Linked DNA regions of Homo sapiens: region 2 is linked to region 1. Evidence: promoter capture Hi-C in 16 types of primary human blood cells and fetal thymus (Javierre and others, 2016). All regions are on one chromosome and are shown on one strand. Each heading gives the region's core, a stretch centred on a gene start or on the middle of the fragment in contact. The rest is flanking DNA. Distances are from core to core; before and after follow the strand shown.

Region 1 (6,705 bases), core at 1,430-3,929:
ATTTAAAAGGCCTATTTGGGAAATTTCACCGTCCAGGGAACCAACATCTTTTGCCCATTTCTGGGCTTTCCTTCTCCCCGGGTGCTCCCGCTGCACACCGGCTCAGGAACACATAAAGCATGCATCACCCTCCAAGCCACTGTCTCATTGCTGTGGGAGGCCAGTGTGAGAGAGTAGCTTGGGGCCTTGCCTTTGACTGGCAGGCCCATGGGATTTTAATCTGCAGCCCTAGGTGCTCCGAGCGAGGGGTTAATGTAAGGGTTTATCTCTGTTCTTCACATTAACCTGGTCAAATATTCAAATTCCCTCTTCCATCCCTACCGTCCCCTCCCACCTTTCACCGCCTTCAGCAAGTCAATAATTTTTCATAATCTGCAACCAGAACAATGTAAACCAGCCACACTACAAGTGGCATCCACAGGGCAGGCGCATTTCTCAGGGGAGTCCTAGCAGGGTCCTTCAGGTCCTGCCACCCAGGACCTGTATCATCAATGTGGGTCCATTGTTGGGCGGGGGGGGAGGCAGGGAAGGGGAGGAGTCTCCAACAGTTTGGTGACCCCCTCCACTGGCAAATGTCCCTTTAGTGAAAGATCCTGGGATCCAGCTCTGTCCCTCCCACCCCCTCCTCTTAACACTTGCCCAGCTGCAAACATCTCGCTGCAGACACCCCAACATACAGAACATATCTGATTCTGACATTTACTTCGGGACAGAAGTACAGCAAAATGAACGCAAGGAAAAAAAGGGACAAAAGGAACTAGACACAGCTTCCTGACCAAGTTCCCCAAAGGCCAGATGCCTTCTCTCCAAGCTAAGTGAGACTCTGAACGGGAGACCTGCAGTCTCCTGCACAGGGATCCCCAAAGAGCCCAGGAAGGCAGGGGACTTTACACCACGCTCACAGCAGCCAGACAATTCTGAAGCTTCGGCTGCTGGCCAGGGATACTGGGAGGACAGTAAGACCCTGATCCCTGCTCCCACGAATAAGATGCCGGCTTTCCCCAGCATCTGCTTTTCCCAGTGCCCTCAGACCTCCTAGCTTCGGGGTCCCTGTTTGTGGGAGTGGCAGTGGCCGCCAGCCCTGGAGGCCTAGAAGCGGTGCGCCCAGCTGGCTGGGCTGGAGCGTGCTGCGTTACCTGAGAGGTCCTCGCGAGCGTTCTGGTGCAAGTAGCTCTGCTCCAGCGAGTAGGAGGACATGCTGGAGTGCAGGCCTGCCGAGGCGGCGGGGTTGCTGCTGGGCGTCAGGGCAGGCGGCTGCTTGAGGTAAGGCGAGGCGCCAGGCGAGCTCCAGTGCGCCGCAGGGCTCGTGTAGGGCGAGTGGCATTCGATGGCGCTCGCCATGGCCGGGGACGAGGGTACCGGGCTGCTGCTGCTGTCCGGCCCGTAGTCGCCGCCGCCGCCGCCCCCGGCCGCACCGACGCCCCCGGGTCCCGCGGGCACCGGGCAGCTGGCCATGTAGGTGGAACCCGGGTTGGGCGACATGTGCGGGACGTGGTGGTGGTGGTGGTGGTGAGGGTGCGCGTGGCTGGGGGCGCCCGCGCCGGCGTCGTAGCCCGCGGGCATCATGTCGAGGCCGCCGTAGCCGCCCTGGCTGTGGCAGCCGAGCGGCGCCGACGGGGGCGCCTGGAAGTCGAAGCCCTGGGGCAGCAGCGACGCCCCGAAGCCCAAGCCGCTCACCACGCGGTGGTACATGGGCTTGAGCGCCTGGCACTTCCGCCTGAAGCCGCGCGGCCGGCGGCGGAACGAGCCCTCCTCGAACATGAACTCGCTGGCCGGGTCGATGGTCCAGTAGTGGCCCTTGCCGGGCCGCCCGAGGCCCTTAGGCAGCTTGATGAAGCACTCGTTGAGCGAGAGATTGTGGCGCACCGAGTTCTTCCAGCCCTGGTAGGCGCCGCGGAAGAAGGGGAAGCGCGCCTGCAGGAACTGGTAGATCTCGCTGAGCGTCAGGCGCTTGCTGGGCGAGCTCTGGATGGCCATGACGATGAGCGCGATGTACGAGTAGGGCGGCTTCTCGGGCCGCCGCAGCCCCGAGCTCGCCTTCTTGGCGCCCCCGCTCCCGGCGCCCGCGCCGCCGCCGCCCGCGCTCTTGCAGGCAGCCGAGGGGGCGCTGGCCGAATTGGAGGAGGACGAGGACGAGGCGCAGGAGGCGGAGGACGACGACGAGGAGGAGGAGGTGGTCTCCGGGGCGGCGGCGGCGGCGGCGGCGGCGGCGGGCGGCGGGCTCATCAGGGCGGCCTGGAGCGCGCCGGGGACCGGGCTGCACGCGCGGCGGAGCGGGGCCGGCGGCGGCCCGCCCTCGGTGGTCATCTGGGACCCGGGAGCGAGGCCGGGCCGCGAGGGCGGGCCCCGGGCGGGAAGCGGAGGCGCCGGAGCGGGGTCGGCCCAGAAGCCCTGCGAGCGCCCTAGCCCGCCGCCCGGGCTGCAGCCGTGGCCACTCCGGGCCAGCGCTTCGGCGTCGCCTCCCTCAGCTCCTCTGGGGCTTCTGGCGGCGGCGGCGGCGGCGGGCGGGAGGCAACGCCCGGCGCATCCCTCCCCGAGCCGCGGGCCCTGCCTTGCGCAACGGCCTCCCAGGCCGCGGGGCCGAGCGGCCGGCGCCGGGCGACTGCGCCCGCGAGTGGGACCGCGGCCTGGACCCCGGGGACGAGCCCGACGTCTCCCTTCAGGAGCGCTCCTCGCTCTGTCTCTCGGACTTCCTCCCTCCCTCGCCCTCCCCGGCCGCCCTCCTCGCTCCCTCCCTCCCTCCCTCCCCCCCCACCCCGCCCTGCCCCCTCCTCGCTCCGCGCCGCCGCGCTCACTCCTCCCCCTCCCGACCTGGCGGCCGCCTCCCTCTCTTATCTCGCTCCCCGCTCTCCAGGGTCTCCTCGCTCTTCATTCCTCTCGCGGCCTCCTCCCCTTTCCCTCACTCACCCTCTTTCCAATTGAGGGATCACAGACTCACTCCGGTTCTGCCAGGGGGACGACCCCCACCCCTCGCAAAACTCGACCACCTCTGACTTCATGAAATATTCTTTCTGTTTGCCCCCCGCAGCAAGCCCCGCGTCCCATCCCAGGACCCAGCCCCGCCCCTCCGCGCCCCCTTCCTCCTCCTGGCCCGCCGGGCCGAGTGGTGCTGCTGCGGGTGCGGCTGCTCGGAGCCTCCCTGGCCGCCCTCCCCAGGGCCGATACTGACTCCATCTGTCAACTTCGTTTAGACTTTGCCGCCCTCAGCCACACGCCGGGGTGCCAGACGCCCAAAGGTAACGTGCCAATCCTCTCTCTTTCTGGCAGGGCCTGCAGGCTCCCCGACAATTGTTAGGGCGACTGGGGGCCGCCGCAGGGTTGCGGGCCGCTGGCGATCGTGGACGTTTTCGGAACTTTGAGCAGAGGGATTTACACTGAGAAACCTAGGCCAAGTTTCAAAGACTCTGGAAACCTGGATCTCATGGGACTTAGGGTTGCATTTGCTTCCACTTCTTCCCCCCACCCCCGCACCCCAGTTAGTGTTCTGTAAGAAAAAAGTGCAAAAGAAAAAGGAAGGAAGGAAGAAAAGAAAGAAAGAGAAAGAAAAAGAAAGACCCTGAGATAAGCGAGATGGCTATATTTATAGTCAGTCCTGAAGGGGTGTGCAGCTGTCACTAGGTTTACATCCTCCGTCTTAACATTGCCCACCCAAAACTGTGCCAGGTCTCAGCTAACTCCTGTCCGAGAACACTTCTCCCCAGTTGTGGCTAATTCCTCCCTAAGTAAGAGTCAGGCTCTGAGAGAGATGTGCCCTCGGGAGCAATCACTTCCAATGAGACCCGACAGTTAGTTATTGGATTACACGTGCAGGGAAATGTAGTCCGACCAGGGATAGGAGCTGGGAGAGGGAGGAGGAGAGCAGGAGGCCGGAGCTGGCGGGGCCTCCCAAGGGCTGAAGGGGGAGGCCCAGAAAGAAGGTGCTGCAGACCAGCGGACCAAACAGGAGGTAGAGCTGGGCACCCCGCTGCGTCTAGGCTGAAAGGACCGAGGTGCACGGGTGTGCCTGCTGGGGAGCCTGGGGAGTTGCAGGAGGCAGGAGAAAGGGAGGTTGTGCAGTAATCAGGAGGAAGACACCAGGCAAAGAGCCTTCACAGCCGCACAGCCTAGGCAGGCCCCCTGGGGCGGCAGGAGCCCTGTGTGCCCCTGGAGTGCCGGGGGACTGCTCCTGGCTGAGTGTGCTGGTGGGGCTGTAGATGCAGAGAGGGCGGGTGGGGAGGGGAGGGGTATGTGGGAGGGGGGTGGGCCGGGGCTGGCCCCAGACAGTGACCTGAGGTTGAGTGGAAGCAGGCTTTTTCCATCAAACCCTGCCTGGATACCACACACAGAGACCGAGTGTCAGTTTACTGCCCTGAGCCGGCTCCTTCTCCCTAAGCTCCACAGTAATTAGACAAAGAAAACCTAAATTAGCTGAACAGGCGTCGACAGCTTCCTCCAGAGCACCCCTGGTACCTACATGGGAATGTGTCCGAAAATGGCTTGATTGTAGCCGAGAGTCAGCTAAGAAAACACCGCCAAACCGAACTCAGTTTACCACTCATTTCCAATAGAAAAAAGAAACAAGTCGCTCTTTTCCGGGTGGGATGTTTTGATTGGGTTGGGGTAGGGCTTCGCAGTTGTTTCCACTTTCTAAGAATTTCTGACTGACTGCTGAGCGTTTTTGGGGGGTGCGTCCCCATATATTTCATGGTATTTTTTTCTCTTGCCCTCATTTGTCATTTTGTGTGGAATAACTTAAAAATACATAACTAAATATGAAAGTAAATATAATGTGTTCACTAAACCAATGCTCTAAGTGCCTAAAATATAATTATTTTCATAAAATAGAAGCTGGAGTGGGGAGGACAGATAGGATCTTAAAGGAGCTCTACTGACATAGAGTTCAGTGTGTGTGTGTGTGTGTGTGTGTGTGTGTGTGTGCTTTAAATGGAAAGAGCCCAGGGGAGAAGCTTGTGGGGGAAAAGGACAATTATCTCATTTGTAGGTGGGGGCGGTGGGCAACGGGCTTTGGAAACATTCAGTACTCATTGTCACTTAGCCATGGACTCTCTCTGATTCTCTGTGCCTGAAAATTATATGTATTTGGATCTCAGGGAATACAGATCCAACTTGTTAAGAGCAGGCCTTAAAAGGTTTTAGGACCCGGAGACTGAAGAATAAAAGGCGCTAACCTTAAAATCCAGGCAGGACCAGTGATAACCTTCTATACTAGTAGCTCCCAGTTTTGGGGTTATGGGGTCATCCTCTGAGAATACGATGGAAGCTATGGAGCCAGTTTCCAGAAAAATACTTCCAACTTGCCTGAGATTTTAGGAAGTCCACAGGTACTCATTAAAACAAACAAGGAAACAAGCAAAAAACCCCAGATTCTTTTAGCTTCTACCAATTCAGCTGGTTAAATTATGAGGGATTTTTTTAAAAGGCTCCTTTCTCCATCCAAGCAACAGCAGTATCCATTTTACCTAAACTCTAAACTTGCAAGAAATCCCACTTAGAGTGTGGTGAGTGTTATGAGGGCCGGCCAGGTCGTGGGAAGGCAGTGGACATTGGAGAGCAGTTAGGGCCAGGAGGCGGTCAGCTGACTGGAAGCCTTCCCTCTCTGTAGGGGTCTGCATACTGCCCCTGTAGACCCTGAACTCCAGAAAGATAAGCAGCTTGGGGGCCTTCTTAAGTTATATCAGCAGGAAGGCTCCTCTCCAAAACTCTTTCTTGGATACCCCACTTCTGCTTCTGGAAACTATTCTCATGGCATAGACCACCACCACGTCTACAGTGACTAAACCCTGCATCTGTTTGTTACAGACCTCGCAGGTACCATCTTGTCACCCACCAAGTGGCCCAGGTATCATCATCCTCCTTTTGAGGTGAGGAAACTAAGGCTCAGAGACTGGGTGACTGGCTACAAGTCACGCTGGGGCAAGTGACAAAGCTGGCCAGCAGCCTGGGCCTGGAACTCCAAAGTCAGTGTTCCTTCCACTGCATTACAGCAAAGCCTCTCTGAGCTTTGTTTTAATCACTGATATATACAAATCTCTTGAGTAAGAATGTATGTGATAGCAAATTATGTCAATTTCTGTATCCCTGGGAGGAATACCTTAATTTCTGGTTAGCAGACAGGGTTTAAAAGGAAAGCTGTGTTTGTCTCTGAAACAGAGCCTTGCTTAGGATGGCTCCCCCACCCCCCTACTGGGGTTCCTTCTTATGGGGGTGAGCTCTTCACTCACTTTCACTCCCTATAAATAACATGAATCTTGACATTTTTTTTCTTACGGGAAGGGAAGGTATGGTTCATATAAATGAGTCTAGATCAGCCCAGGCAGTCCTTGGTTAACCAAAACTATGCAGCCTCCGCCGCGATGGGTCCTCTCTCCATCCCGCTTTGGTTGACTGTCCCGTCTGGGCTGCGGGTTCCTTTCCCCTCCAACCCTTTAGGTCCCACCCCTGCCCCAGCGCAAGGGAATGTAAACTTCAACAAGCTTGGGTTTCTCCGATTTTGTTCTGTAATCGGCGTTTTATTCTAGGAAATCTCCTCATTATTGCGGTTTAAATTCTGTGTTCTTAGCATGCTTCCTCTGCTTCGTGGGTTTCACATGAAATGGCTTAGACTAAACCAGTCACCGACAGGAGAGACGCATCCGCACCGCACTGTTTGCGGCCATCTAAGACGCACCCCTCCCTGCCTTCCGCCTGGGCCCGGGAGGAGGGAAG
Region 2 (6,705 bases), core at 1,279-3,778, 1.2 Mb after region 1:
TTTAACTTTGTTCTTGATTTTCTGAGTAATTTAAGCGTTCACGTTGGAAGAATCTACCGCATTATAGATAACATTTTATTGCAAGTAAATGTATTTCAAAATTTGTTACTGGTTTTATAATAAAATAGTGTCAGCCTACTTCATTATCAAGCTGTACTATTTTATTTATGCAGTTTGATGAACTTACAGCAGAGCTGGAAACTATATCTTCAAAAATGTCTATATTTGGCTAAAAAGAATCAAGTTATTCAACAGGAGTTATTATCTATGAAAGAAGTACAACAGAAATGTAAAAAACTTGAGGAGGTTAACAAAATTTTGGAACAAGAAGTAGTGAATCTTAAGACACATGAAAAAAATATGGTAGAATTTGGTGACGTAGAAGAATGTAAATTGCAGTTGGAAGAAAGAGCAGGACAGGAAATAGAAAAATTAGAAGAAATCAATTTACAGGTTAGTTTTTTTAATCAGGTAGGTTTATCTGTAATGTGCTTTCATTTATTTCACTGCAAATTATAATATAGACATACAGTGTTTTGTCTGCCTCTCTTATAGGAATTTGCTTTGTAGAGTTTTAGAAAAAAAGGTGGCACCTGTTTCTTATTTTAAATATTTAAATTTCCATCATGATTATAACTAAGTTGATCTTTCAGAGTAGTGAGTTTCACTATACAGTCATTTGGTTATTAAAACCAGTTAGCATAAGACTATTAGAAAAAGAAAACTCTGATTTAAAATTATATGGTACTTTTGAATTGGTCTTACGCTACATTGTTCAGTTTTTAACATTTCCAATGGATTCTATTATTTTTAAATGATTAGATTACATGAACACTAACAAGAATGATTTCAAATTTTTATAATTCATATTTAATTCTGAATTCTGTTATCAATTTAGATGAAATTGCTAATAGATGTTTTAAACTTCAGCCCCTTTTTAAAACACATATTTAAAATTGCTTTCTGAATCACTGACTCAAAATGAAAGGCAACAAATAGAGACTAATTAGGTTATAATTGTTTTAAAAGTATGATTTTTTATTTGTTTTAGAAACAAGCAGAATATGAAAAACACAGCAGTTAAAAGAGAATAATATGGCTTTGATGAATAAAAGAGAACTCTGACTGAAAGACGTGGAATGTCAATTCTCCAAAATGAAAACCGCTTATGAAGAGCTTACTACGGAATTAGAAGAATATAAGGAAGTCTTTGCAATAACATTAAAAGCTAACAAATCCATGTCAAAAAATTTAAAGAAATAAGTCAAAACATACACTTGTAGAAAATCAATCAAGTTCATTAATTTGCCATGAAAGCATAATTTTTAGTGAGACAACTTCATGAGATTAGTAGGAAGTGAAAGCTATCCTGATAGTATAATTTTTGAAAATAATGCTAGTAAATAAACTTACATTTAAAATGTTAGTCAAGGACAGTTTCTGTCTCTTCCCTCATTTTTTTTTTAACTTTTGTATGGCCTTTTCCCCTGAAAAATCTTACGTAGTTAACCTAGTCTATTAGTCTTTTAGCATTTTTGAAGCTTTATGGTCAATAAAGTGATCTTGCTGTAAAATTACTTTTCAGAATTCTTCTAAATGGAAATATTAATGAATTTAATTTGTTTTTTAGTAGGTCACAATCTAAACTCAAAGTGCCCAAACTACTACTATTCTGGGCACGTCCTGGCATTTAGTAACTTAACTTTCCTGATTGTGATTTTTAGTATTATCACTAGAGGGCGCTTTGAGACAAACTTTTCTGTATAGTTTTTTCAGTCTACAGGAAGACATGCTTGTGAAATAGGGAATGATTATCCTAGGGATGAAAGAAAGTGTAATTTACAAAGTTGTTTAAAAATAACACCTTGGTCAGCCTGAAGGGGTGTGTGGAAGACAGAAAGGGCAAGCCCCACCTCCAGTGCCTTGGTCACAATGCTAAGGGCTGATTGCCTTCAGAGATGCTTTAGTTCTTTTTGATCACCAATCCAACCATCTAGTTCTCTCCTAGGAGTTCTTGCTCTGAATTATTTCTCAGTGTGAAATGCTTATTTTTTCCTAGATAATGGGTGAAATGTACAAGGGTGGTGAAAACAAATGTTTGAAAATATATTTAGGAGTGATTTCTAAAATCCTGAAACTGGTTTCTAAATACAAGTATTTCTAGCTTCTGTTTTTGTTTGTTTTTGTTTTTGTTTTAGTTTTCTTAATTGTATATTATTTAAGGCATACAACACGTTACTATATGTTTATTCATAGTGAAGTTGTTCTTATAGTCAAGCAAATTAACATATCATCTCACATAGTTACCTTTAAATACAAGTATTTCTTTTTTTTTTTTTAATTTTCCCGAGATGGAGTCTTGCTTTGTTGCCCAGGCTGGCGTGCAGTGGCGCAATCTCAGCTCACTGCAACCTCCGCCTCCCAGGTTCAAGCAATTCTTCTGCCTCAGCCTCCCAAGTAGCTAGGATTACAGGCGCCCACCACTGCACCTGGCTAATTTTTGTATTTTTAGTAGAGGCAGGTTCTCACCATGTTGGCCAGGCTGGTCTCGAACTCCTGACCCGGTGATCTGCCCGCCTCAGCCTCCCAAAGTGCTGGGATTACAGATATGAGCCACTGTGCCCAGCCTGAATACAAGTATTTCTAATGGCATCCTCAGAATCTTATAAGTACAGCCTTCTAGAAGGTAGCAAGCATTACCTATTGAGCCGTACATCGATAGCCATTTCTCTCTCCTTCCTACTTTGTTTGAATTACTTATTCACTAGAAATCTTCTTAGAAACATATGTGATTTTTTAAGAACGATTTTAAAATTATACTTGCTTATAACAGGTATGCTCTCACACATTTGGTGTTAAAACAGTTTAGTGGGTAATTTTGTTTGCTGTCAGGGCAATTTTTTAAAAATTGCAAATCATTTAGGAATCATTTAAGGAAAAATAAAATACTAGGCATTTGTTTTTTGCTATCTGTACAGATCAAATGAGATAATAGCAATGGTCAGCAGCAAGCTCCATATAGAGAAAGAGCAAATGAAATCTGTTCCCACCACTCTGCCTATGAGGCCAGACCCAGAGCCACCCTGGGTTGGAAATCTTAATAGTATAGGTCACAACAGAAAATATATTCCAAAACACCCATAAGGATCCCTACTTCAAGCCCATAGACTTCGAATAACAGCATGAACTGCTTGACTGAGGTTAGTTATATTACCTTTTCCCTTTTGGGTTTTGTTTTTCTAATATACTTCTTGTTTTTAATTTGGTGAAATACTGAGTCGTTCAATTGACTTATGCTTGTTAAGTGAAGGTCATAATTAGCTAATGCAGAAAGCAAATGGGAACTTTACGGTTTTTATAAGTCCTGGGAGCTCTCATTTTCAAGAGATACTTATTTGTTAACTTGATTCAATAAATGTAACTAAACTGACACATTTTAAATTGATTGAAAAACTGCATTTAAGTTAGGTTTTAGAAATTGCATGTTATTGCCTAATAACTAAAGGTAAGCTTTTTTTTTTTTTTTTGAGACAGAGTCTCACTCTGTCGCCCAGGCTGGAGTGTGGTGATGCAACCTCGGCTCACAGTGGTGCGATCTCGGCTCACTGCAACCTCTGCCTGCTGCATTCAAGCAATTCTCCTGCGTCAGCCTCCCAAGTAGCTGAGACTACAGGTGTGTGCCACCATGCTCGGCTAATTTTTTGTATTTTTAGTAGAGACGAAGTTTCACCATGCTGGTCAGGCTGGTCGCGAACTCCTGACCTCGTGATCCCCCTGCTTCAGCCTCCCAAAGTGCTGGGATTACAGGAATGAGCCACCGCGCTCAGCCACTTTGGCTTACTTTCTGATTGATTGTAGTTTTGGCTGCGGTTCATACCACTTTTAAAGTTTCTTTGCACTATCTCAAGTTTTCCATCCCTAATCACAGGGAAGCGGTGGGCATCCAAGCACTTAACCACATACGGATGTTTATTATTTAATGGAATCCAAAATAAACATCAAACACTAAAATATTTCTTTCCATTTTTATGTTAAAAGCTTTGTGGTTTTCTTTCTTTTTTTTTTTTTTTTTTGAGATGGAGTCTCCCTCTGTTGCCCAGGCTGGAGTGCAGTGAAGTGATCTTGGCTCACTGCAAGCTCCGCCTCCTGGGTTCACGCTATTCTCCTGCTGCAGCCTCCGGAGTAGCTGGGACTACAGGTGCCTGCCACCATGCCCGGCTAACTTTTTTGTATTTTTAGTAGAGACGGGGTTTCACCGTGTTAGCCAGTATGGTCTCAACCTCCTGACCTCGTGATCCTCCTGTCTTGGCCTCCCAAAGTGCTGGGATTACAGGTGTGAGCCACCTCGCCCGGCCCAAGCTTTGTGGTTTTCTTACATAAGAATACATTCTTTATTGCTATCAGACTTAACAGCACTTTTATTTCAACTTTTGTAGAATGTGTCTATTGCTGAGCAATTTTACAAGTTTTTAAATTATTAAATCAAGCACTATTTGCATTTTTAAAATGAAATTCACTTATGTCTCTACCTTGCCATCACTTGTGTGATTACTAAGGTGGCAGTGATATCAAGTCTTTTAATAGCAGCTGCAGCCCAGCAGAAGCAATTATATTAATCCAATTCAGAAGTTAATGCAGAGCCACACAGCATATTTCCATCTCCCCTGGGCTTGTAATAGAAAGCTTCCAATCCAACCATGTGATTTCACTCATAGTAAGAATCCATTTCTGGGAATCCCAAAATGAATCCAACAATAACAAGCTGTGTCAGATAAGGAAAAAATATATAGTTCAACTATGTTTGACCAAGTTGAAGATATTTGTCTCATGTTTAACTGTTTTTTGACTAAGAAAAAAATTTAAGAACCAGGTCCTGTGGCCCACACCTGTAGTCCCAGCTACTCAGGAGGCTGAGGCAGGAGGATGGCTTGAGCCCAGGAGTCCAGGGCTGTAGTGCCTCATGACTGTGCCTGTGAATAGCCACTGCACTCCAGCCCAGGCAACACAGTGAAACTGTCTCTTAAAGAAAAAAATTACAAACACCATAAAACAATGGTTTGAACAAAAATAAATAAATAGCAACCAGTTTTGCATATCATTGATATTAAAATATTCATTTCAATCAATACACATTCATTTACAATTTCCTTGGTGATTTCATAATCTCCTTAATGCAGAGAAAGGTAGCAAGTGGATGGGGCCAGCCTAAGGCACAGTGGAGGAAAAGGTGGTAAACTGCTGAGAGGTGTAGCAACTGTGAAATGGTAGCACAAGTCAGGCTTCTTGACCCAAACCTGGCTGGACCTGGGGAAGAAGTCAGACTGTTTGAGTTTGATCAGTCATACTGACGCATCCTTAATCAAACATAATTTCTGCAGCAAAATATATGGATATTTATAGTAACAGAATTAGATGTTATGAAGAGCCTTAGGTCAGTCCAGGTTTTGCTGCCAAAGAGTTTGTTGCAAAGTTTTAAAAGAAAGTTCAGTTTTTAAACCATATTTGGCTTTTGGAATTGCAGGTGAGGGGTTGTGGACCTGAAATTATAGTTAACACTTGGGAATCCAGGCCTGTTGTGTCTGCTTTACACACATTGGCTCTTACTGTTTTCACAATGCAATGAGGGTAGGTACCATGATGATCCCATTTTACAGGTGAAAGACAAGGGCACCAGGAAGTCTCTTTGGTAAGTGACTTTACAAAATCACACAGCTCGTCACTGGTGGCTCCATATTACACATTTTTCCTGGGCTACAGACTTGTGAAAGGGGGTCGGGAGAGATTGAGGGGCTGAGGTCTTTCTTGCACACCTCACGCACCTGGCATCTGCCTGCAGCGAGCCTGCCTTAGTGCCAAAAAGGTCAGAGCAGAAGGGGAGCTGGAGCCCCGCAGACATCACAATCACACTCTTGGATTTACTGAAGGCCCATGGGGACTCATGTCTGTGATTACTGGAGCTTATGATCTAATCAGGTGATAAGCTTCTCTCACAAGCCATAGAGGAATTTAAGTGTGATGTCCCGTGGACCAGAGGTGGTCAGAGACCCTGTGTATGGATAAGTTGGGATGCGGGCTGGCTGGGCCTTGAAGAAATTCAGGTAAACAACTTTATAAGGATTTTATAAAGAGATTCTTTATAAGGGACAAAGACTGTTACATGTGGAGATGACCTAATTTTATTCTTTTAGCTGTGCAAGATGTGTGTGTTCTGGAACATCACAGGTGAACATCCTTTGCTTGCGACTCCCTCATCACTGCAGAGCAGCATTCCCATCAGGCTCTGACTGGGTCAGCTGGAGAGTGTTCAGGTGTTTCTCTGCCAGTGTCCCTGTGCCTGTGTGCATTTGTGTGAGTGTGTAAAATATACATACCAAAATATATAAAATGCACAGGAACAGTTTAAAGAATAATGAACAACTCAGTTTAAGAAATTGAACCTTATGAAAACTTTATTTTTTATTTCCATGTTTTTGGGGAATAGGTGGTATTTGGTTACATGATTGTTTTTTGTTTTTTTTTTTTTGAGACAGAGTCTCTCTGTGTTGCCCAGGCTGGAGTGCAGTGGCCACTGCAAGCTCCGCCTCCCAGGTTCACACCATTCTCCTGCCTCAGCCTCCCCAGTAGCTGGGACTACAGGCACCTGCCACCATGCCCAGCTAATTTTTTGTATTTTTAGTAGAGATCCATGTTACTCAGGATGGTCTA

What was found. Contacts are between HindIII fragments. The CHiCAGO score rates a contact against its expected background, and 5 or more counts as called.
Region 2: a contact is called between a fragment that was not itself captured here and the fragment with the promoter of FOXF2 in region 1, in 2 of 17 cell types (activated CD4 T cells and total B cells). The highest score is 6.9, in activated CD4 T cells.

Annotation. Positions count from the first base shown.
Region 1 is chr6:1,385,550-1,392,254 of GRCh38, reverse strand. It overlaps FOXF2 (forkhead box F2), which reads right to left and starts at 2,679. Exons shown (of 2, transcript NM_001452.2): 1 at 1,137-2,679. The coding sequence starts at 2,307. It overlaps FOXF2-DT (FOXF2 divergent transcript), which reads left to right and starts at 2,794. Exons shown (of 3, transcript NR_187218.1): 1 at 2,794-3,236. It overlaps MIR6720 (microRNA 6720), which reads left to right and starts at 1,844; the gene lies at 1,844-1,941. RefSeq lists an enhancer at 632-1,497. The HindIII fragment of the contact is 4,023 bases long and covers 926-4,948 here.
Region 2 is chr6:164,100-170,804 of GRCh38, reverse strand. It overlaps the pseudogene ANKRD18FP. Among named protein-coding and RNA genes, the nearest start is that of LIRIL2R, 13 kb to the left of the region's middle. The HindIII fragment of the contact is 1,969 bases long and covers 1,544-3,512 here.